4 separate regions of the Homo sapiens genome follow, and all the other regions are linked to region 4. The links are contacts of gene promoters, found by promoter capture Hi-C in blood cells and fetal thymus (Javierre and others, 2016). All regions are on one chromosome and are shown on one strand. The core of a region is centred on a gene start or on the middle of the fragment in contact, and the rest is flanking DNA. Distances in the headings are between cores, read along the strand shown. Region 1 overlaps KPNA1 (karyopherin subunit alpha 1). Region 2 overlaps PARP9 (poly(ADP-ribose) polymerase family member 9). Region 3 overlaps KPNA1 (karyopherin subunit alpha 1). Region 4 holds the start of PARP14 (poly(ADP-ribose) polymerase family member 14).

Evidence for each region. The method cuts DNA at HindIII sites, captures the fragments that hold promoters and counts their contacts. A CHiCAGO score of 5 or more calls a contact.
Region 1: a contact is called between a fragment that was not itself captured here and the fragment with the promoter of PARP14 in region 4, in 1 of 17 cell types (activated CD4 T cells). The highest score is 5.1, in activated CD4 T cells.
Region 2: a contact is called between a fragment that was not itself captured here and the fragment with the promoter of PARP14 in region 4, in 1 of 17 cell types (activated CD4 T cells). The highest score is 5.4, in activated CD4 T cells.
Region 3: a contact is called between a fragment that was not itself captured here and the fragment with the promoter of PARP14 in region 4, in 8 of 17 cell types (megakaryocytes, erythroblasts, endothelial precursors and 5 more). The highest score is 8.7, in megakaryocytes.

What each region holds. Positions count from the first base shown.
Region 1 is chr3:122,505,027-122,509,032 of GRCh38, forward strand. All of the region lies in intron 1 of KPNA1 (karyopherin subunit alpha 1), which reads right to left. Among named protein-coding and RNA genes, the nearest start is that of KPNA1, 7.9 kb to the right of the region's middle. RefSeq lists enhancers at 3,503-3,552, 3,713-3,762. The HindIII fragment of the contact is 996 bases long and covers 1,577-2,572 here.
Region 2 is chr3:122,527,916-122,531,862 of GRCh38, forward strand. It overlaps PARP9 (poly(ADP-ribose) polymerase family member 9), which reads right to left. Exons shown (of 11, transcript NM_001146105.2): 11 at 9-828. The coding sequence ends at 449. It overlaps LOC105374071 (a long non-coding RNA gene), which reads left to right. Exons shown (of 5, transcript XR_001740869.2): 4 at 3,209-3,304. Among named protein-coding and RNA genes, the nearest start is that of KPNA1, 15 kb to the left of the region's middle. The HindIII fragment of the contact is 9,672 bases long and covers 1-3,947 here.
Region 3 is chr3:122,454,860-122,458,928 of GRCh38, forward strand. The region is part of intron 5 of KPNA1 (karyopherin subunit alpha 1); the gene reads right to left. Among named protein-coding and RNA genes, the nearest start is that of WDR5B-DT, 41 kb to the left of the region's middle. The HindIII fragment of the contact is 2,903 bases long and covers 258-3,160 here.
Region 4 is chr3:122,677,977-122,682,255 of GRCh38, forward strand. It overlaps PARP14 (poly(ADP-ribose) polymerase family member 14), which reads left to right and starts at 2,863. Exons shown (of 17, transcript NM_017554.3): 1 at 2,863-3,094. The coding sequence starts at 2,908. RefSeq lists enhancers at 1,851-1,970, 2,374-3,146, 2,571-2,970, 3,512-3,601 and a silencer at 3,211-3,260. The HindIII fragment of the contact is 13,941 bases long and covers 1-4,279 here.

The sequences.
Region 1 (4,006 bases), core at 825-3,324, 170 kb before region 4:
CACAGTGGCTCACACCAGTAATCCCATCACTTTGGGAGGCCAAGGGGCGGGCAGATCACTTGAGGTCAGGAGTTCGAGACCAGCCTGGCCAACATGGTGAAACCCCGCCTCTACTAAAAATACAAAAATTAGCCAGCATAGTGGCATGCACCTGTGAGTCCAGGTACTTGGGAGGATGAGGCATAAGTATGGCTTGAACCCGGGAGGCAGAAGTTGCAGTGAGCCAGGATTGTACCACTGCATGCCTCAAAAAAAAAAAAAAAAAAAAATCCAAGCAAATTCTGATATGCATCTGCAGTTGAAAATCACTATAGTAGAGCAAAAGTTTTATTTTAAAACAATGTAAAATACAGTTGAAAATGAAGGCTGAAGTTGGACTGAAGATAGCTTTGATAGGAAAGAAAGGAAATAAATCTCTATGTCTGTAATAAGAGGAATAACAAAGTAATTGTATGAGAAAATTAGTTTATCCTAAGCAAATATTTTTAGGTGTTATCACCTAAGCTACTAATTAAAAATTGTAAGTTACTTTTCAAAGTACCCTCTCAGGAATCAGAAGCCTTCAAAATTAAAGCCATTATACCTAAATTTCCTCTTGTTTTCTAGAGAAATAAAGCCAAAGAAGCAATAAACTTAAAAACAAGATGCAATACTGGTGGTGAAATAGAAACACACTCTTTCAAAGACAGATCCCCTCACTTTCTCCTTCATGTCTAGTTACTCAATTATCAAATTTTGCTTATTCTATCCAAAGTCTTTGATTTTATCTGATCCGATCTATTCCCACTGCCACCAGCCTGGCTCAAGTCTGTGTCAACTGACACCTAGATAACTACAACAGCTCTAAACCAGCATTCTTAACCTCAGACTCTTTGCTCCTCAATTCATCCTACACAGCCCTCAGATTAATCTCAACACCCTTTTCACTGTATCACTTCAATGGATAAGGAACTACAACGTTTTTAACCACTTCTTAGAACAAGTCTAAACTTCTTGGTCCTGCAAGATCCTTTTGTCTGGATTCATTCAATACCATTCTCCACCACTCTAAACCCAAAACAATGAGTGTAGATCTTTTTATATTTTTATTATATTCAAGATGTTATATATTCAGTGCACTGGGTCAGCCCACCTAATCAGTAAATCTCAAACACATTCTAAATGTTCTGAATATTTAAAATCCATAATACTCTTGTGGAACAACTTGAAATCCTAATATACTTAATTCCACCATATAAATCAGGCATAATTTTATTAGAAAGTATATGATATGCATTTACTATTAAAAACCAAAACTACAAGAAAGTATGACTACAAAAAAGTTATGAATTTAAATAAGTGGAGTATAAGTATAAAGTGTTCAGTTCATTTGAAAATATAAATTATTGATGTTAACAGCTTCTAGTCAAACGATAGTAGGTCCGTTTAAAATATTTTAATAGAAATTAGAAAAGAAAATTAAAATTTGAAATATCCTACCCATTCTTTTCCTATACGATAATTAAGGAGTAGCTTTATTTTTATTAAGAGCATTTCAGTGTTCAATGAAAGCAAAGTTTGAAAAACCCTTCAATAAAGCTTTTCCTGTGAGAAGTCAATGTGGCAGACATATGATTCATAGGTGTTCATCTCTGGCCTCATCTTATAGCTCTAACCAATAATCCAATGGCAATACATATTTTCTTTCACAGCCCAGTTTCAAATGTTTTCCTTTGAGAGGTTTATCATAACCTTTGCCCCAAATTCTGACCCCCAACTCCCAGTATCTATAGGTTCCCAAGCTGGGAAGTTCTCCAAAGACATTCTCAATATCAAAACACTTAAAGGAAAATATCTGTCAAGGATCTGGAGAACTCAAACCCTGAATTGAATACTTCCACTTTTAGAATGTACATAAAGGAAACAAAACTAGTAGTATGTGTAAGACTGTTCACTGCAGTGTGATTATTCTAGTGAAAAATTGTAAAAAACCTAAAAGTTCCAATATGAGGGCTTGGTTAAAGGAAATGTTCACAATGTATTGAGAAAACAGAACACTAACATGAAAAATCTGAATGCTGGGAACAAAAACCCAACCTACACTATTCTCTATACTTTCGAAAAATATTTCGTAACTTAAGAAATCAGAATATAGCTGGGCGCAGTAGTTCACACCTGTAATCCCAGCACTTTGGGAGGCCAAGGCGGGCGGATCACCAGAGGTCAGGAGTTCGAGACCAGCCTGGCCAACATGGGGAAACCCCATTTCTATTAAAAATACAAAAATTAGCCGGGCGTGGTGGCGGGCGCTTGCAATCCCAGCTACTCGGGAGGTTGAGGCAGGAGAATCACTTGAACCCAGATGGCAGAGGTTGCAGTGAGCTGAGATTGTGCCATTGCACTCCAGCCTGGGCGACAGAGCAAGACTCCATCTCAAAAAAAAAAAAAAAGAAAAGAGAAGATATCAGCATATAAAATTTGAATATGGAAATATTATTTTATCTTCCAAATTTTCTGTGATAAGCAATATACTGATTATACAAGAAAAAAACTTTCAAAAAGTAGAGCTGAAAGCATATGTTTACTATGATAAAGCTTATCAACCTACCTAAAACACTGAATTTCTATACTTTTCACTACTATTTTTTCAACTGAGTATGCTGTTATTTCTTCAGAAGTTCTGATCTTTATGGTCTTTATGAAGGAGAAAAATTATCTCTTATCTAAAAGTTGAATGATTTTTTGGGGGGTTAAAAAAAAAAAAAGACAAATCTTTCCAGAAGATGACATAAAGGGTTCGTTCCCTCAGTAGTAAAAAAATTTTTAATCGCAAAAACTTGCCTTCATTCAATTCATATCCATTAATGAATTTAATAACCACTGTAATATATCTGTTTTAAGAACACTTATGAGGGTTTTCAAATTTCAAATCAGGAATTAGCACATATAGACTGCACTTTTCTTCCCATATCATATTAACTCAAAGCCAGAAATTCAATTTTAATCTTCAATAGGCACACAGTGGTCATTCAAATGCTGTGAAAAAATGAACAGAGGAGAAAACAAAGAGTTTATGTAAAGAAATAAAATGGTAGACATGGTAGAATACTAAAATTATAAAGAAATTTTTTTTTCAAATAAATGAACCAGAACCACGGCATAAAGAGAATAGGTAAGCAAAAGAATCAGAGATGGTGTCAAAACCTAAAAGAAGCCATAAAATAGACAAATTATATGTCACTAGCAAAGTGGAAAACTCTGAAGCCTAACCTGCAAACGAAGAAGGCAATAAGAAACAAGCTGATTCACACTACCTACCCACAAACAGGATGCTTCAGACAGATCATCCAGGTACTATCCCTCCTTAAGGTAGTGAGGAGTTGGGCTCAAAATCAGAAGGTTTGTTGAAAGTCTACAAAACAGCCATCACATGCCCAGATTTCCTCCTCCACTCTTCACAACCAGACAACCATCCTTCAGTAATCCCTTCAAATGGGTGCTCCAATGCAGGTGAGGGTGGGGGTGAGGTGCCTTATTGATAACAGAATTACATGAGCACAACAGTAAAAACCCAAGCTCCTTTTCTAAAATGAGTTCTCAAAACATGGCAGCCAGACACACATTCTCCTGGCAAGAGACTGGAGACTCTCAGGGAAACTGACTAGCCCAAGAGAAACAAACCTATGAGTATATGCCCTCCACCCACCACAAAAAAAATGGCCACCAGCTACTCTCTTCACCCTTCAACAAGCCACACTTAATAGAGCTTCCAATTCAGTTTTTGGCACTTCATTCTTAAATATGAATGGACAGCCACAAGACTACCAGACATCTGGGGAAAGCCTCAATAAAGAAAAGACAACAATGGTAACAAAATTTTTAAAACTATCATTAATATCCCCAGAAAGAATACAGCATCTATGAAACAACACAAATATACTATAAAATAAGAATGAGAGGCTGGACGCGGTAGCTCACGCCTGTAATCCCAGCACTTTGGGAAGCCGAGGAGGGTGGATCACTTGAG
Region 2 (3,947 bases), core at 577-3,076, 150 kb before region 4:
AGAGCCAGTTAATCAGACAAAGATGATTTATTTTCATACCTAAAGCACTTTATAATATTCTCTGGAAAATCTAAAATCATTCTGTTATCCTAACATTTTTATACTATCATCATTTTAGAAAATAAAAGGCCTGCGTTATATACTAGAAAAATTTCTTCATTATATGCAAAATATTTATCTCCTCTAGTAAAGGAGATTAAAGAACAACTGCAAGAGGAAGGAAGGTCCTGAAAGTGTTTCATTTGGTATCTACCTACCCCAACCCCAAGACATAAAGACAGATAAAGGCACTAAGATGCTAGTATGTGGCTAGTCCTTTCAATAACCCAGTCAGTCCATACAGATAACCCATGGGATATATTCAAGCCACTCTTTGAGCCATCGATGGTCATTATTTGGTTAGTTCACCCAAGGTAAGGCCATACCAGCTGTTAAAATGATGTAGAGATTAATCAACAGGGCTGCCACTTGCGAATCCCCTCCAAGGATGCTGTGCAAAGGGTCTCATTGGTCCTGATGAGTAATCTTGTGACTGTACATATTCCTGGGTGCATGTCCACAAATACTGAGGTATAGCCTGCATGCCACTAAAAATAACAAAGGTTTCAGGGCTGGAGACATTGTCAACCACACTGTCATGACCATCTATAGCTCCAGGACTCAGTGGTGGGGGAACAATATTTAACGGATGTCCCTGGCAGAAGAAGCCTGTGAGTACTTCAGCCTCAAACACATAGATCAGCTTATCTGCAGCAGAGATTTTCTTGGCCTTCTCTGCCAGGTTTTTGAGGTTCTTGGTGAAGTATATGCCAGCTCCGTATTTTGGATCTGATAAAGGAAAAAATAAAATAAAAAGATTATTATAATCTGGTAAATGATATTGCCGATTTGGGTACTAATATCTATTCTTTCTTTAGTCTTCCAAATAATCACTTCCTCCTGATTCTGAGTTCCTGTGTCTATAGCAAAGACACTCAAAATTGTTCCTTGAAACAAATTATCACTGACACCATCAACATCATAATAACTTACATTCAAATATACCATTAGGGCTGGGCACAGTGGCTCACACCTGTAATCCCTGCACTTTGGGAGGCTGAGGCGGGTGGAACACCTGAGGTCAGAAGCCTGGCCAACATGATGATACCCCGTCTCTACTAAAAATACAAAAATTTAGCCAGGTGTGGTGGCAGGCACCTGCAATCCCAGCTACTCAGGAGGCTGAGGCAGGAGAATCACTTGAACCCAGGAGTCGGAGGTTGTAGTGAGCCAAGATCGCACCACTGCACTCCAACCTGGGCAATAAGAGCGAAACTCTTAAAAAAAAAAAAAAAAAAAAAAAAGAACCATTAGTGTTCATAGAGAAGTTAATGGTTTTCAAAGTATTGCACATTGATTAGATTAAATTATCTGTGATTTGGGTAGTAACTCCACGTAAAAGACAAAGATCTGAGATTCAAAGAACTTAGATTCAAGTCAGTATTATCAACTAAGTAGCTGACAGAGCATAACAAAAGGAAGGTTCTGTTTCCCTTAGAACATTGTCTGACTTCGGCCGGGCGCGGTGGCTCACGCCTGTAATCCCAGCACTTTGGTAGGCCGAGGCGGGCTGATCACGAGGTCAGGAGATGGACACCATCCTGGCTAACACGGTGAAACCCCGTCTCTACTAAAAAAAATACAAAAAAATTAGCCGGGCGCAGTTGGGGGCGCCTGTAGTCCCAGCTACTCCGGGGGCTGAGGCAGGAGAATGGCATGAACCCGGGAGGCGGAGCTTGCAGTGAGCCGAGGTTGCGCCACTGCACTCCAGCCTGGGCAACACAGCGAGACTCCGTCCCAAAAAAAAAAAAAAAAAAGAACATTGTCTGACTTCTACATGCTACAAATAGGGATATTTCCAGAACTCTCAAGAAGATGGTTTGAAAATAGCATCTAATAAGAGAAGACGGAGTGCCTCCTAACCTCATGAACAGCATTACAAGAAAAATATGTCATCTGGGCCCGGTGGTACACACCTGTAATCCCAGCACTTTGGGAGGCCAAAGTGGGTGGATCGCTTAAGCCCAGTATGGGCAACATGGCAAAACCCTATCCCCACAAAGAATACAAAAATTAACCAGGCATGGTGGTGCACACCTGTAATCATAGCTACTCAGGAGGCTGAGGTGGGAGGACTGATTGAACTCAGGAGGTTGAGGTTGCAGTGAGCTGTGATCGTGCCACTGCACTCCAACCTGGGTGACAAAGCAAGGCCCTGTCTCAAAAAAAAAAAAAAAAAAAAAGGAAAGAAAAAGAAAAATATGTCAAGGGGAATGTGGAGTATATAAAATGACAGTGTGCATACTTCATTGTTTAGGAAAAGCACTCCTGGATTTGGAAGGACAGAGGCATTCTAGTCACCAGGAGGGTATTGTGTACTCTCCATGGGTTGGCACAATACCTCATGAAGAATCTCCACGTGCATGTTATCTAGGTCCATGCTCACCGGGCAACTTTCCACCCATCAAGCACTCTGGGGACTGTGATACTAAGGAAGATATGCCCTATTCCCACCACTAGAAATGAGTACTCTCCATTCTGACACATTGCCTGTGATCTGTATTATCTTCTTTGGGGTATTAAAAACACTCAGGAGGCTGAGGGCCAAATTCTGGATCTCGAAGTAATCCCTGTTCACTGCCCTTTCTGACCTCACTTAGAGGGAAAAAAATTATACCTTCTTTGATGCCATATTATCCTTCCTTCCTTTCCTTTTTTCATTTCTTCCCTCTCTTTCTTTATGTGGGATGTAACCAAACACTTTTAGGCTCAAGAGCAGAACTAAACAACAGAAACGTACTATGAGTCACACATGTCGTTTAAAACTTCCAGGCTGAGTGGCTCATGTCTGTAATCCCAGCACTTTGGGAGGCCAAGGCAGGAGGATTGGTGGAGGTCAGGAGTTTGAGACTAGCCTGGGCAACACAGTGAGACCCAATCTCTACCAAAAATAAAAAAATTAGTCAGGTATTGTGCCACTCACCTGGATTCCCAGCTACTCTAGTAGCCACATTTTAAAACATTTTTTTAAAAAAGGTGAAATTAACATTTTTATTTAAGCCATTCAAGATGTTATTTTAACATGTAATCTATATTTTGAAAAGTATTAGATATTTTACATTCTTTTGTAGTAGGTCTTTGAAATCCGGTGTGTATTTTATACTTACAGCATCTTTCAATTTAGACCGGCCACATTTCAAGTGCTCAATAGCCGCATGTAGCTAGCGGCTACAATATTGAACAGTGCAGCTCTGGAAATTTAAAAGTGAGTAAGATATGATCCCTATTCTCAACATTTCACAAAGGGAAGTCTCATCATGTAAACAGATAAAATATAGTACAATTTATGTGGCAAGGTAATATTTTGAGATAAAAATCAAAGATTTTCTTTCCCGGGAGTTTCTTCTTGCTCTTTGTTCTTCCACCTATTGAGTCCTTGCTACTTCTTATTAAGGGCGAAAAGGATAAAGATGAGAACAAAGTCTATATATAAATATATGTATAGTTTTTTGAGAACTGCCTGCTGGGTGCAGTGGCTCACATCTGTAATCCCAGCACTTCGGGAGGCCGAGGCGGGTGGATCACGAGGTCAGGAGTTCGAGACCAGCCTGGCCAACATGGTGAAACCCCGTATAACTGTATGTATATAATTGTATGTATCTATATGTTTGTGTTTACAAGTACATATATATATATGTAATTATTTTTAATTCACAGAAGAGAGTATGGTCTTGAAATTCTGGCTTTCAGAGTTAGCTTTTCTGAGAGGAAAAGGGCTTTTTGAACCAAAAGCTAAAAACCAGAAGGATTCAGAGCATGGGTTGTTTTTTTTTATTATTTTATTTTGTTTACCATAAATGACAGAGCAGAGAGTAATACAAAATATTCTAAGAACATTTTTCTCATTT
Region 3 (4,069 bases), core at 459-2,958, 220 kb before region 4:
GGCCAACAAAAAATAGAGCATATTACTAAAATATATCTCTAACACTAACTTGACTCTTTAGCTTAATATTGAGAAATCCAATAATGAACTCTTTTCTATTTAGTTAAGAGTTCTTAATTACATTTCAGGTTGTTTCTTCCACCATTCTGTCTTCTATTTAATAAAGCACATACACAGAAAAAAAGAAAAATTCCATGGCATGTCCTTTAAATCAGAGAAAATAACAAGTCGTCATCAAATGACCTGTGATTCTTCTAAGCTTCCAGATTAACTAAAAGGTAGCTGTCAGGTAGAAAACTAAATTCATTAATCTTTGGGAATAGAGGAAGACAGGAAAATGGGCCATCTGATCAAATCACGTTCAAAGCCATGTTAGTGATAGAAAATTCATAGCAGAAGACACATAACCAATGGATGTTCCAAAGAAAACTATAAAAGTGACATACATGAGTGAGGTAAGGTGGTTTAGTAGCAGCAGGGAGGCCCAGAGTAGGAGTACTTCGGTTAAAGAGCCCGTATCTGGTCCCTTTTTGTTATAACAAAAATTCTGGGGACTTACAGATTAAACCCCAGATATCATGAAATAAAAATTCTTCCCATATTTATCTCTATGATTAAATTACTAATGAAAGCAACACTCAGTCCCTTTCAGTACGTCTGAATTAAAACTTGACATTTGTACCGTACTTTATATTTTCTTTTTTTTCTTTTTTGAGACAGAGTCTCAGTCTTGTTGCCCAGGCTGGAGTGCAATGTCACGTTCTCAGCTCACTGCAACCTCCACCTCCCGGATTCAAGTGATTCTCCTGCCTCAGCCTCCCAAGTAGCTGGGATTACAGGCATGTGCCACCACGCCCGGCTAATTTTTATATTTTTAGTAGAGACGAGGTTTCATCATGTTTGTCAGGCTGGCCTTGAACTCCTGATCTCAAGTCATCCTCCCATCTAGGCCTCCCAAAGTGCTGGGATTACAAGCATGAGCCACCGCACCCGGCCACTTTATATTTTCAAAGTACTATTCACATACTCGCAGATGATCCCTACAACAACCCAGAGATGTAAAGTATCTGGCTTTTCTTGTGTACAAATGAGGAAACTATCTGAAAAAAAATCCAACAATTTGACTAATGACTCGAGTAATGTTACACAGTCAAAGACAAGGACTAAGTTACAGCCTCCTAATCTAATACATTACGAAGCCCAGTCATAGTTTCCTGAAACATAATGCTGACCCAGAAATATTTCATTTGCTTGTAGTTTGGATATCTAGTTCAAGAAATTTTAAATAACAGTATGCCAGATTATTTATACTAAAAAAGAAAAAACAAGTTCACCTAAGATGTAGTTTCTTTTGCTTACTAGGAAAATTAATTTGTAAACCAGAGTCATATGATGTAAGTATAAAAGCAAACTGTCCCACCACAAGGCAGGCTCAAAGTTCAATAAACAGTCATCAGATACTGCAAACATAAAGTCAAATAAATGAAAACTCTAAGGAAAAGCAATCTGGAAAAAAAATAAGATCAGAATACATACCATCTGTATACAAGAAAAAGATTACAGTGAGATTTGGATGCAAAAGAAATTATAATAATAACCTGGGTATACAGGGATATAGTACAGAGTTATTGGTGAGAAAAAATTACTTAGAATTCTAATTGGTGCCAGCGTTCAAACTGCTATTTTGAGTTTAGCACCAAAGATCTCAGGGGAAATGAGGGAGAATTCCAGAAGCTACACAAGTTAATAAAATAGAGAAGCAAAACAATTCAAGTGACAATGACTAAGAAAATGAAAAGTAAGTGAATAACAGCCTGAATACAGATGGTAAAAAAAAGAAATTATTACATCTTAGCAAAAGAATAACATGCCAGTTATGCTTATCACTAAGTAGTACACAATGATGATAACCTCTCAATGCAATTCAGGAATGAAAATCAAAAACAGTTTTGCTATTATTGGGGATAGAAGTAGATGGGTAACTGTAACAAGAGGACCACTGAAAATACAACCATATTCATGCATTAATAAGGCAATAAAACACACACACACAGGGTGCTGATTACTTTGCTGTTTTCACTTTGTGAAAGCTAATCAAGCTGTATTTGTGAAATTTTCTACACCCATCTATACATGTGTGATATGTATGTATGTTTATGCAGGTATCCACATATGTATGAGAGGAGGGAGTAAAAAACAGAATTTCCCTGAGTATAGGCCTCTGTTAATGTTAGAAGAAGTAACTGTTAAACGTATTTATGTTTTTAAAAAATTAGATGTACTTTAAACTACATAACTTCCCTTTCATCATAGTCTGTACTTTAAAGCTGTATTCCACTGAGATTTGCCATCTATTTTTTTGTTTTTTCTAAATGTTTCAGCCTTGGGTACTAGATTAGAATTTAACATGAAATAGTTGTGAAATGGGAAAGCCTAGAATTGATGGCAAACACATATGCATAAAGTTATGATAGAAACAGCCAAAAAAATTAATTAAAGTAAGCAACCCTGTTACCAGGAAATCATTAACCTGGGAAAAAAAAAAATCTAAGAAATGGTATTGCCTGAAGTAACAAATGGTGGCCAAATAAAATCTTCACTTCTTTTGTTGTTTTAAACTACTATATTCTTAATATCCAAGAATGGCATCATACAAGGAAACAAGCTATCATGCAGCTGGAACTACTTATAAACTGTAATTCCACTCATTATTTTTCACTGTCCTGAACTCACTAAATAAGGCTACACCTGAAATCTGCACACTGAAGGTTTGATGTTTTCTCTCTTCCCTTTCTTAGTCTCTACCTTCTGGCGCTCAGTTCCTTAAATAAGGAAAATGAGAATCCAAAGCTGAAGTACTTCTGACCTCCTATCAAGTTTCCCACTCCAGGTTGAGGTACGCCTGGTTCCCTTTCTCCATTTGGATCAGGACTCTGTTGCTGGCCACTTTGCCGGTTCCACTCTGGTTCCTAGCAAATGCCAGGCTCACCTGGAGAGCAAGTGAAAAGAAAGGCTCACATCAGAAAAATAAACCCAGATAGCAAACTCTGCAGAGAACAGTGCCTGAGTCATCTGAGCAACTTTCCAGGAAAGGCAGAGAGATCAATGAAGATGGGAAAAGACACAGGAGGATGAAGGCTTACTGCAGTTTATCACATTAAGCTTTTAGAGGGGACAAGAAAGGCAGAAAAGGGGAAACTAAGCCAATGTAATTCAAATTTACAACTTTTCAAGGATTATCTGTCTAATATTTGGAAATAGAAGGCAATATATTTATTTCTAGCTATTTTTATAAACTTCTATAAGAAAGTTTGGGAATGCCACATCTCAGCATTGCAAAGGACAGCACAAAGATACTGGGCCTGGACTCAAAGAAGCAAAAAAGTAGGCTCACAGACCATGCCATAAACCAGACCAGTCTCATGACAAGGGCTCAAGTCTATCTGAGACCTAGATGTCACTGAGCTTGAGAATGCGCTTAGCTAAAAGCCATTGTCTGCTTCCAAAATCCTAGATTCCACCCATGTTCACCTTCAGCACCTGGGTAGCAATGCTCAAAGCAGGCACTTTTATCTCCCTGGTTTGAGGTACCTTACTGACTTGGGAAGCCAGAAAGAACATAAAAAGACCCTTCAATAGGATTCACAGTTCTTTATCTATGGAATGAAGAAATTAAGTTTGTCCACAAGATTTATTAGTGAGCTGAGCCATCAAATTTCCTCTTGGCACCACATAGCATGACTCTCCTTCTGGAAGAGAAATGACAAAAGCCCTATTCCAAAGGTGCATTATTCAAGTTCTAGTAAGCAGGTAAGAGTATCAGGGATAGCTTACATCTGTCTGCTCTCCAAGAAGGCAGAGGAAGGAGTAACCTCCAAGCTTCCCAGAGCATGTCTAATTATTTGAAAGCATGGTAGATCATCAAGTCTCCTGGCTTTAAGGTCTCTCTCGATATATTTGCCCCCTTGCTTCTGAGGTGGTCAAAGGTCCCCACTAGTCACAGTGGAGGGAGAACACCATGGTGTCCTTAAATGTGCACATAAAAAAGCTAGAGATGGCCCTTAGATAA
Region 4 (4,279 bases), core at 1,613-4,112:
TATTGTGTGTTTCTATTTAAAAAAATATGATCTAGATTATACTGAAAATGAATGCTTGTCTTGAGACATACACATGTGTGTTCAATTCAATGGTTACCTAATTGCATGATGAGGAAAGGTCTTTACACAAACACGGAAAGATCAAGTCTACTCTGGACTCTTCTGGAGAAGCCACCTCCACCTCCCACTCAACCATAGTATTGGTGAAACGAAATTACTTCTATTTGGGAAAATGCATCAGTAGTAATTACTGTCCTGGCCAGTTGAGGGGTATGGAGACTGTCCCTATGGAGGTTTGAAGATAAAAGCTCTTGAAAGGTACCTGAGCATAGGGAGTAAGGCCAAAGACTGTGATGTGTCCATCAGGGGGCTCCCTCTGAGGGTAGAACTTCTTGGAGTACTTTTCCCTTGATGTATGGCCATGTCTTATTTTGGGGTGACTAGGTCAGGAGTTTCAGAAGCAAAATGAGGTGGAGTGGTGGGCATGAGGTACCTACAACTCACTGATTCAGGACAGAAGGGAAAGCAGCCCTTTCCCTCCTTTATACCTCAATGGTAGAAATGAGGAGGCTGATGCTAGTTGGTAGAGAAGTTCAAAAGAGCACGATGCTAGGCTACGGCAGTTTGTAGAGAAACCAAAAGGGGGAATTTAGATGAAGTAGGGAAAGGGAAGTTCAGCCCAAAAATGCAGACATGGGCTGTTACATTAAGATGAGCTGTAGCTGTGAAGTAGAAGGAGAATCAAGGAACACGGCCACTTCTACAGCAGGCCACCCCCACCCCAGGCCCTGAGAAGACACGTGCTTCCCAGGAAGAAAGGATCAGAAGGCAGATACCCACAGGAAACAGAGAATTGTGAGAGGATACGCATTCTTCAAGTGAACAAGGCAAAAATAACTTGCAGAAAACAAAGTACTGCAGGAGCTAATGCCGTTCAACAATTTGCCCCTTCTAGAACTTTCTTTCCTTGGCTTTCAAGACCTGCCATCCTGATCCTCTGATAGCTCCTTCCCAGTCCACCCAGGCATGATAAGCAGACCTCGGTGGTAAGACACATTGTCGATAATTAAATAAATCCTCGAAAGTAATCCAGAAATGCCTCTGACTTTATTTCTTATACAATAATTATGTGAGGAAAAAGGGAAACTTTTTGCTGAGTTCTGGAACCCCAAACTCAGGGGAGAGTGGGAGAGGAGGAGTGCTGATTTTAGTTGTGGTTTGGGATGAGATGTAAAGGCCCTGGGGAGAAACAGTCACCAAGTCTGGCTGAGGGCGCTTGTCCTCCCGTCTTCCGCATGCGGGGGTCCAGAGCAGTTTTGGATCAGATGATGAGCGCCATCTGCAGGTAGCAAGCTGGAGGCAGGAGAAAATATCTGTGTACTGTTTAGGATTATTACAGAGCCGAAATAAAAGCCAGGTAAACCATTTGGCCCATCTCTGGTTCTCTTCATTCTGAAATTCAGCCCGATCCTGTAACCCCACAACCTACTGCCTGGCTCCTTCTTCCCCTTCACGGTCACATTTCTGCAAAGAGCGTGTTACGCTCTCTGCTTCCACTTCCTTCCCTCCCTTTCAGTCTTCAGTAGCTGCCATCTCCCTCTCCTCCCTCCTCACCAGGAGACTATGCTTGCCGCTCCTCAGCAGTCCAGCAGACACTTCTCTGACCTGAGGTATCGGTAGCACTGGAATGATAATCCCCCCGCCCCCCTCGACTTGCAACACTGCTTTATTTGGGGTCAAGGAAACACACAGCCCCAGCTTCTCTCCCATCACTCGGCCTCCCCTCTTGCAGATGCCACTATTATCCAGCCACTTGCACGGGCCATCCATGGCTGACCATGGAGTCATCCTTGAGCTTCTCCTTCTCTCAAGGCTCACATTCTTCAGCAAGTCCTGCTTTCACTATTAATTGAGAATCCTCGTTTTCTCAGTTCTTCTCTGCCAGCACCCCAGTCTCAGCCACCCTTGTCTCTCACTTAGGACACTATGGTAGCCACTTGGCTGATCTCTCTGCCTCCACTCTAGCCACCACGCAGCAGCCGGAGTGATCCTGTACATGTGAATCACACCGTGGAACCCCACTTCCTAACCCTCCAAGGCTATCCCCTGATATCCTGGGGTTATCAGGTTACATGTCACCGCCCTATAAACCCTCCCTGAGCCGCCACAGCTGGACTAGGAGCCACTCCTCATCTGTTCCAGGAACACAAGTATATTCTTTCCCAGAGCACCTATTGCCCACTGTGTTCACCATAGCTCCGTGAGCTCAGCGAGGGTTCAGTGAGTGAGTGCATGGCGCCTAGTAAATATTCCACAAAAAAAACTGTGAGTGTAATTGTTTCCCCCACATTTCTAGACATGTAGTATTAACAGATCAAGGAACAGAAAGCAAAACAGGGAAAGCAACGTAAAATTCTGATAATCACAATGATTGCTGAAAAAGTCCCCAAATAGGCAGCAAACATTCTAAAGGGGCCACAGTTTGTGAGTCATTTTATTCTTTTGTAAAGGGTCGGCTTGCGGCAAAAATTAAATGATCTTTGCGTTTGGGCAAGGTCTGGTGCCCCAAAGCTGCCGACTTGATCTGCGGTTGGGGCGAGCGGCAGGTAGGGGGCCCGGAGTTAGGAGGGGGTGTGGGAGCCCGTGGAGCACAGGTGAACTGAGGCCGCCTTCCCGGGGCGCCGCTGGCCAGCCCCAAAGGGTTACTTTGGCCTTGGCTGTGGGCCGAATGCGAAGGTGGGGAGGTGGGCGGGGGATGACTCTGCCATTCCTGGGTCCGCTGTGTTAGGCTGAAGGCAAAAGGAAACCAAGGCCTGGGAGTTTTCCAGGAAACGAAAGCGAAAGAGTCAAAGTTAGCGGCCCGGAGTTGGCGCGGCCCCTGCAGTCCGGCGGAGAGCGGAGCTGAGGATGGCTGTGCCCGGCTCCTTCCCGCTGCTGGTCGAGGGCTCCTGGGGCCCCGACCCCCCGAAGAACTTGAACACCAAGTTGCAGATGTACTTCCAGAGCCCGAAGAGGTCGGGAGGCGGCGAGTGTGAGGTCCGCCAGGATCCCAGGAGCCCATCCCGCTTCCTGGTGTTCTTCTACCCGGAGGACGGTGAGGGGCGCGAGGGGTGGGGTGAGGAGGGGGCACCTCTGCCCTCCCTCCAGGGAAATGGCGGCAGGGCACGCACGGGAGGGTGACCCGCCCGACTTCGGCGGCTGCTGTAGCGGAGGTGGCCGGGGCGGGGGCGGGGGCGGGGGCGGCAGAATGGATTCCGAGCGCACCCGGGGCGCTGCGGTTCCCCGGCGCCCTGCGCTTCCAGGCGCTTAATGGCGCGGCCCGGAGGTGGCGGCGGAACCGCGCAAGTAACTCTTTATCCCTCGATCGTTTTCTGTCTTTCCCTGTTGTGGTGGTGTTATTGTTTGTTGTTGTTGTTGTGGAAGTGAGTCTATCCTCTTATCATCCTTTTCTGTCTTTTCCTGTTGTTATTATTCTTGTGTGGGGAAGGAAACTGATTAAGAAACGTGGCAAGTCACAGAGATTCCTTGTGGTTCTTGGAGATTCCCAGGGGTCCCGGGGTCACTTGGGAGAGGGGCAGAGGCGCTACCTAAAATCACACTGCCTGAATGTCAACGTAGAGCCGTCACAGCGGCCACATTGGAGGGGCTGTCGATCGACCACAGGTGCCCATTGTCGAGGGCCTGCCGGGGCCTCTTCTCCGAGTCTCTAGTGGCCCTCAGATTGGGAGCAAGGATGATATTCTGAAGTGATTGTGGGTTGGGAGATTTGAGCTTTGGAGGGAAAGTCGGCAAAGTTCCCTCCTTACAGACCCACCACTACTTGGTGGGCCAAGAGCCCAGAGGTGATCTGCTGGCTCAAGGGCCTCCCTGGTCTGCAATGGGAAGCCAGTGACCTGCAGCTCCCAGAATGGGCACCTTTTCCACTGGCATCTTATGGATGATGACCTATCGGGATCTAGTCAACCCCTAATTCCGCTTTCATGTCGCTAGATTTGGAGAAGCATTCGGGCCAGAGGAGAGGCAAGGAGGCTGAGGCTGAGGCCATGCAATTAGAGTGCCCAAGCAGGGATCCAAAAAGGAAAAATGAAACAGAAAAAGAATGGCGCACAGAAGGAAGGAAGGAGGGGGACAGGAGATATGCTTGGCTCATGGCCCTTATGAAAACAAAATACCATGTTTTCCTAGGATTAATTTTACCAAGGAGTGCTCAGAAGGGCAACTGTGTGATATTAGTCATTTCTCTTTTGGGTGTCACTTTTCCTTGAGGGTTTTCCCCACT